Regions from separate parts of the Homo sapiens genome. Here region 2 is linked to region 1. The links are contacts of gene promoters, found by promoter capture Hi-C in human tissues and cell types (Jung and others, 2019). All regions are on one chromosome and are shown on one strand. Each heading gives the region's core, a stretch centred on a gene start or on the middle of the fragment in contact. The rest is flanking DNA. Distances are from core to core; before and after follow the strand shown. Region 1 holds the start of RASL11A (RAS like family 11 member A). Region 2 overlaps USP12 (ubiquitin specific peptidase 12).

Evidence for each region. Contacts are between HindIII fragments. The study calls those that stand out against the background at their distance.
Region 2: a contact is called between a fragment that was not itself captured here and the fragment with the promoter of RASL11A in region 1, in 3 of the 25 tissues and cell types used here (H1 embryonic stem cells, heart left ventricle and small bowel).

What each region holds. Positions count from the first base shown.
Region 1 is chr13:27,268,812-27,272,130 of GRCh38, forward strand. It overlaps RASL11A (RAS like family 11 member A), which reads left to right and starts at 2,019. Exons shown (of 4, transcript NM_206827.2): 1 at 2,019-2,257; 2 at 2,673-2,729; 3 at 2,828-2,907. The coding sequence starts at 2,134. RefSeq lists an enhancer at 1,481-1,981 and silencers at 1,930-2,149, 2,190-2,419. The HindIII fragment of the contact is 19,308 bases long and covers 1-3,319 here.
Region 2 is chr13:27,126,153-27,129,885 of GRCh38, forward strand. The region is part of intron 1 of USP12 (ubiquitin specific peptidase 12); the gene reads right to left. The region is part of intron 1 of USP12-AS1 (USP12 antisense RNA 1); the gene reads left to right. Among named protein-coding and RNA genes, the nearest start is that of USP12-AS1, 2.5 kb to the left of the region's middle. RefSeq lists an enhancer at 1-171. The HindIII fragment of the contact is 5,304 bases long and covers 1-3,733 here.

The DNA.
Region 1 (3,319 bases), core at 769-3,268:
CCAGCCTGGGCGACAGAGCGAGACTCCGTCTCAAAAAAAAAAAAAAAAAAAGAAATGAGAGCAGTAGGGATACAGAGGGAGACACCAAGAAATATAGGAGGAGAAATGATGGAACTTGGCGATTAATCAATGTGGAAGTGAGAGAGTGGGTAGAGTCAAGGATGTCTCCCAGGCTTGGGCCACTGGGTGGATGGAGACACATTCATTAGCATGGTCAATTACAAAAATGGACCCCATTCTCCATCACTCTCTGCTTCCTTGCCCTTTCACACGTGACTTTTCTGCTGTTTCCACAAAGGGGCGGAGTGTATTTCCCTACTCCTTGAATATGGGCTGGCCCCATGACTTGCTTTGGCCAACAGAATGCAGCAGAAGGGATGGGTTCCTTCTCAAGGCCTAGGTCTCAAGAGGCCTTATCCATTTCCACCCACTCTCTTGGAACTCTGCTCAGCTACCATGAAGGCAGGCCCTGGCCAACGTGCTGAATGAGAAGAGACATGTAACTCAGTCACTACCCTCCCTCATCACAGCCAACAGCTGCCAGACATGAGTAAGGCTATCCAAGGGCAGCCAGCCCCCACTTCCAGAACCTGGAAGCTCCCTGCAGATGCATCAAAGGGCTCAACAACTGTAAGTGATTGTTGTTCTAAGCCATCTAGTTTGGTGTGGCTTGTCATGCAGCAAAAACTGGTACAACCAGGGTAGAGAAAGGTATGAATTAGGGTGGGGCTGTCTAATAGGCGATTAGGCAAGTGAGGCTGGAACACAGGAGGTCAGAGGCATGAAGGTCTTCTAACTGTTCAAGGTTAAAGTCCTGAGGCTTCTGCTGTGCTATTTCTGGTGGGCTCCAGAAATCCAAGAACCAGTCTATAGCTCTGTGTCCTGTTCCTCACACTGCCCCCCACCCCACCCTAGACCCCACCATGCACCTAGAAGTAAATATTTGGATACTGAAGCAAATGCATGACTCAAGCACATAGGATAGTATTAATGATGGACACTTAGTGCAGGGCCAGGGCCCCCAGCCAGTGGAGTGCTCATGAGTGTTCAGGAATGAGCCAGTGCAACCCCTGCCTGCAGAGGAGGGGCTGGGCATGGATACTGAGATGCTAACCATCACTGCCCCTAAGGGGACTTCATCTATCCCTAGCAAGGTCACAGTGACTGCAGTTGCCTCCACTGATACTAATTCAGAGCTCTTGCCCCCCGCCCCCCGCCCTTTTCCCATATTAATGTTACCCCTTAGCATCTTTTCTTTTCTTTCTTTTTTTTTTTTTTTTGAGACGGAGTTTCGCTCTTGTGGTCCAGGCTGGAGTGCAGTGGTGCCATCTCGGCTCACTGCAACCTCCGCCTCCCTAGTTCAAGCGATTCTGCTGCCTCAGCCTCCCGAGTAGTTGGGATTACAGGCGCCCACCACCACGCCCCGCTAATTTTTGTATTTTTAGTAGAGACAGCGTTTCGCCATGTTGGCCAGGCTGGTCTTGAACTCCTGACCGCAGATGATCTTGCCCACCTGGGCCTCCCAAAGTGCTGGGATTACAGGCGTAAGCCACCGCGCCCAGCCCCTTAGCACCTTTTAAAAATAAAAAGGGCAGCGTTTTACAGCAATCTGTCCCATTGTTGCAGAAACATCCAACTGATTGCACTTTTTCTTCTTCTCTCGTCAACTCGTAACTCCTATCTCAAGTTCACCCACAGGTCTAGTGACTCCGGCTGGCTGCTGCGGGGCGAGGAGACTCGCAGAATGCCTGACTAGAGGCCACTCGCGCGCTCTGGACGGTGGCCGTATCTCCAGGGTCTGAGCCCCGGAGCCGCAGTCCTGCCGCAGAGCGCCTGGAGCCGCGAGCAGCTAGCAGCCCGGCGAAGCGCACAGCCTCGGCGATAGTCAGCTCCGCGGCCTCTGCTCCCGCCCCTCCCGGCCGCTCCGGGAAGGGGCGGAGACGAGGAGGAGCTGGGACGGCCGCCGCGCTCCCGGGCGCACCAAGCCCTTTAAAAGCCGCGGGCCTTGACAGTTCTGCAGGCAGCCGCCGCGGTCCCGGACCTCTAGTCCCGCACTCCCAGCTGGCGAGCCGGCTCCGGGTGCGGCGAGGCCCAGCCCTCTCGGATTGCGCGCCGGACCCCGGGACGCGCTCCATGCGGCCGCTCAGCATGTCCGGGCACTTTCTGCTCGCACCCATCCCCGAGTCCTCCTCGGACTACCTACTGCCCAAGGACATCAAACTGGCGGTGCTGGGCGCCGGCCGCGTGGGCAAGAGCGGTGAGTGCGGCGGGGACCCCCGGGCGGCTTCGCTCCCCGGCTCCGGCCGCGACCACTGGGGGCGCTGCGGAGAGAGGGCGCCTCGGCCGAAGCAGAGGGCGCGGGTGCAGGTAGAATCGGGCTGCTTTCGCGCTGGGTGGGTCCCGGTCCGTCCCGGCCTGCTTCCCTGGCGTTTCCTGGTGCATCTACTCCTGGGATCTCGGCGGGATTGGCGCCTGTTCGGGGATGGGGTGCGGGAGAGGTGTCCCGCCAGTCGTACTCGCGGCCAAGCCCGCGGCACCACGGCTTTGCGGAGCCTCTGGAAGCGAGCAGTGCCCACGGTTCTGCACCCTTCACTCCCCCCAGTTTGTCCGAGGTGCCTGGGTTTGACAGGCTTGTTCTACTCCTTCGGTTGATTTTCCTATTTCCTTTTCAGCAATGATCGTGCGCTTCCTGACCAAGAGATTCATTGGAGACTATGAACCGAATACAGGTGAGAATACTTTCACGCTCCCTGCTTTTATGCTTGCGTGTTTCTTTTTACGGATGGGAGTTTGAGAATTAAAAAGCAAACTCTACTTCATTCTCCAGGCAAGCTGTATTCACGGCTGGTCTATGTCGAGGGGGACCAGCTCTCCCTGCAGATCCAGGATACTCCCGGGGGCGTCCAGGTAAGAACCGCCAGGGGCAAACAGCTCACCCCCACCCGTGAGACCACCCCAGTGGGCACAGCACGTAGGGCGCCCATGCTGGGCGCAGGGGTCTGAGCAAGGCATCTAAACCGACCTGTGCGTTTAGAGGGAGGAATGGGCTGTCCACAGGTGGGGCCAGTGGTTGGGGTGTTAGAAACTCTCTAAGGGGGAGGCATGGTTAGAAGCAGCCTCCTCTTGTTAAGCACCTGACTTAACTTCACTTTGCAACCCTGGTGGGCCATCACTACTTAAGCAGGTCTCACCATTTCTTCCGGAGGTAGCCATGGAACCATTAACAAAGAAAAAAACGTTTAAAACAAAACAAAACAAAACAAAAAAAGAGGTAGGATTCTGATGGGAGAGACTCTTCTCCCCTGGCAAGCTCTGCTTT
Region 2 (3,733 bases), core at 549-3,048, 140 kb before region 1:
AGACAGACTGCCTCCTCAAGTGGGTCCCTGACTGGGAGTGCAGCCTGACTGGGAGACACCTCCCAGTAGGGGCCGACAGACACCTCATACAGGCTGGTGCCCCCTGGGACAAAGCTTCCAGAGGAAGGATCAGGCAGCAATATTTGCTGTTCTGCAGCCTCTGCTGGTGATACCCAGGCAAACAGGGTCTGGAGTGGACCTCCAGCAAACTCCAACAGACCTGCAGCTGAGGGGCCTGTGAGAAGGAAAACAAACAAACAGAAAGGAATAGCACAAACAGATGGAACTAAACAAGCCAGGCTTTGACTCTTTCTTTAGGGGTATTTTCATTATAGCTTTTCATGTTGGTACAATGAAAACCCTGAACTACAAAGAGTAGGCATTTAAACGTTCCAACCGCAGGCTGGGCAGGGGACTGGGTGACAGCCTTCAAACCAGGAGGCTGCATTCGTGTCCCCATTCTAATATAAACTAAACTACTGAGCCACTGCAATAAAACACTGCCTCAGTTTTCTCATCAGCAAGACAGGAGACCAGATTTGTAGCACCTATTGCAAACCCAAAATGCTACAATTCTAAAATAGCAGCACTACTGTAGAGTTACCAAAGTTTAAATTTAGAACAAATATTTGTTCTAAACATTTGAGCTCCAAATTACTAATCTGCAAAAAAGGGCAAACAAGACTTGCAACATGGCTTGTTTCTGTGAAAAATGTATAGAAGATGTTCAGAACAATGCCTGGCACAACAGGCACAAAGCAAACTTCCTTTGCCCATCTTCCTCCATCCCAACTACAATGCCATCTATTACTCCTTCCTTCAGATGAGTCTTTCAAAAAACACAGTCCTGACACAATTTCTGTGGCTGGGAGGGAAAGTATCTGGGGGTTCTGCACTGATCTGCAGTCATCCTAAGAGTCTTGGTCTATACTTCCTCCTCTAGTGGCCTCCTCTATGTTAAAACAAAAAACAAGCTTTTGATCTGTAAATGTTCACAATGAGACAATGAGCTACTGAAAGAAATCTCATAGTTTTTAACTATCCCATCAAAGTTAAAATGTGCACCATAAAAAGTAGAAGGGTCTAGACCTAAAACTGGCATTGCACCATTGTGGTACACATGGCAGAAGCTTGCAAAAGGCTTAAAATCAGAAATCGGCACAAAGCAAAGTGACCCTCAGTAAGATATATGGTACCAATGACATAAAAGGGAACAGAGAGGTTCAGCTGCCAACACTAATGGAGAAGTCAGAACATGTTGCTAAGTCTGAGAGAAATGAAATATTGTACAACCAGTTATCAAGCTCTAATAATCACATGATCAAAGGGCCTTTGCCTCTATTCCTATCACAGGTCTTCTGAAAACCATTTGTTCCATTGCAGGAAGAAAGAGAAACAATATAATTTTGCCGTCCAGTAGTGTTTATGTTTGTGTATACATCCCATTCTCCCACCTACCCTCCATATCCCTCCTAAAAATCTTCAACCTGATAGGGAAGATTTCTGGCAAGTTCTCAAAAACTGAATTTCTTCCCAGAAGAAATTAAAAGTAGTTTACTTTCTCCTTCAACTGCCACCACAGAAGCACATATGTAACATATTAAACATCTAAATTTCTCATCTCTTCAGAAAAAATCCAATTCTATGATTAATCACTGCGCAAGTAACTGCAAATTTAAATTTACTCAGAGGACTCCACTTATGTAATAAAAAACAAGTTACATATCTGAATCAATATTATAATTCACTGCTAAATAACTAAGCCAAAACCAACAGGCATGTAATTTTAACTTTCAAAAGTTCAAACGTCCACTAGAAACTCAATGTTCCTATTAGACATGTCAAAAAGCACAGTATTCCGATTATTTTATTCAGTATTTTCAATGAAAAGTTTCACCACATAATTCATGGCTAAATGTGTTATAGAGAATATTTAGAGAGAACAAAAGAAGATTCGGATTTACCTTAAGTCTTTTAACTCAGTCAAGATATGGAAATATAAGATCACTGGATGCCAAAAAAATAAACGAACGAAAAACAAGCTTTTGATCTGTAAATGTTCACAATGAGACAATGAGCTAATGAAAGAAATCTCATTACTTCATCTCTGTTAGAAGTAACAGTAGTAATAATACTGGCTTTTCCAAGAACCACTCTGTCAAGCCTTCACATTTGGCTTAACAATAACATCAAAAGGAAAATTCTCAAATATGACCAAACTCAGCATAAGAACATACTTGAGTGCACGATGAAACTTTACAGATCCTACTTTCCTAACAATACAAAAAACTTTCAAAAAATTAATAAAATACTCTCATGGATAGCTAACATTTAAAACATAACTATATCTGAACTCCGTAACTGGCACCTTACCTAAGGCAAAAAGGGTGGGCAAGATGTGTTTTTTCAGCATCTTCACATTGTCTTCAATGCAGGGATTCACCCACTTTGGTGAACAAATTACAAGAATGTTTCATCAAGCTCTTTCTACCATATTCTTGATAATTTCTATATCTATTCCACCAAATAATGTTTCAGCTCTATAAAAAGCAAGGATCCCTGGATTGCCACCCTGCGTACCCTTCAGACACCTGACTTGGATAACAGATTTCTGTGATTATGCTCAGTGAGAAAACCTGTGTTGATGCTTTTCCACTTATAAAAACATGAACGCTTCTATTTTTCCCAGCACCTATGTTACAGTATAATAAAGTATCTGTAAAGTACCTACCACTCCTGAGAAGAAAATCACTATATAAATACAAGGTATTATTAAGTTCAAGTGAAACCAAAATCAACAAATTACATTATGGACTGACTTAGTTTAATAGTAACGGAGTTCATACTCCAGATTCCATATGCAGACTCTGACTCACCCTAATAAAAAGCAAATTATCATCAAACTTACATAGTTTTATCAAATACTCGGAATATTCCATACACTTCAAATAAAAAAAAGTACTCATATTGTGAACTATCTAGAAAGAGTTCTTCATTCTTACCACAATAAGAAAGTGACCTGTAGCTCTTTCCGTGTCACTGAGACAACAGGAATATTATATTAAACCACAGTTAAGTGGAAAGAACAAAGCAGCATCTCTGCCAGTCCTGTTTTCTAGACCTCGATTCCCCTGACCTATAAAATGTGGTTCTCTCTTACCATTTTCCAGCTATAAAACTGTGGAAGAACTGAAAACAACTTTTAAGTTCTGCAAAAATAAAAACCATTCTTAGTAACCACACCATCAACAGCTCATAAAATGACAGTGTCACTCTAAAGCTATGCGTAGGCCAGGTGCAGTGGTTCATGCCCATAATACCAGCACTTTGGGAAGTCAGAGCAGGAGGACTGCTTAAGGCCCGGAGTTCTAGAGAAGGCTGGGCAACATAGCAAGACTCTGTCTCTACAGAGGATGTTGTGGAGCACGCCTGTAGTCCCAGCTGTTCGGGAGGCTGAGGCAGGAGGATCATTAAGCCCAGGAGTTCGAGGCTGCAGTGAACTATGACCTGGGCGACAGAGTGAGACCCTATCTCTTAATAATAATAATAGCAAATAAAAATAAATGTATGCATAATTTTTGTGAAGGATGTTAGAGAAATGCTGCAAAGAACTTTATTCCATTAATGTAGTTTCGGTCTTTTCAACAACAAGAAAGCACCACTCTTTGATAAATGGTGGGGAAGTAGAAAAGAACTGGCTGCCAACTGGCATGAAGCACGGTCACATCCAAAA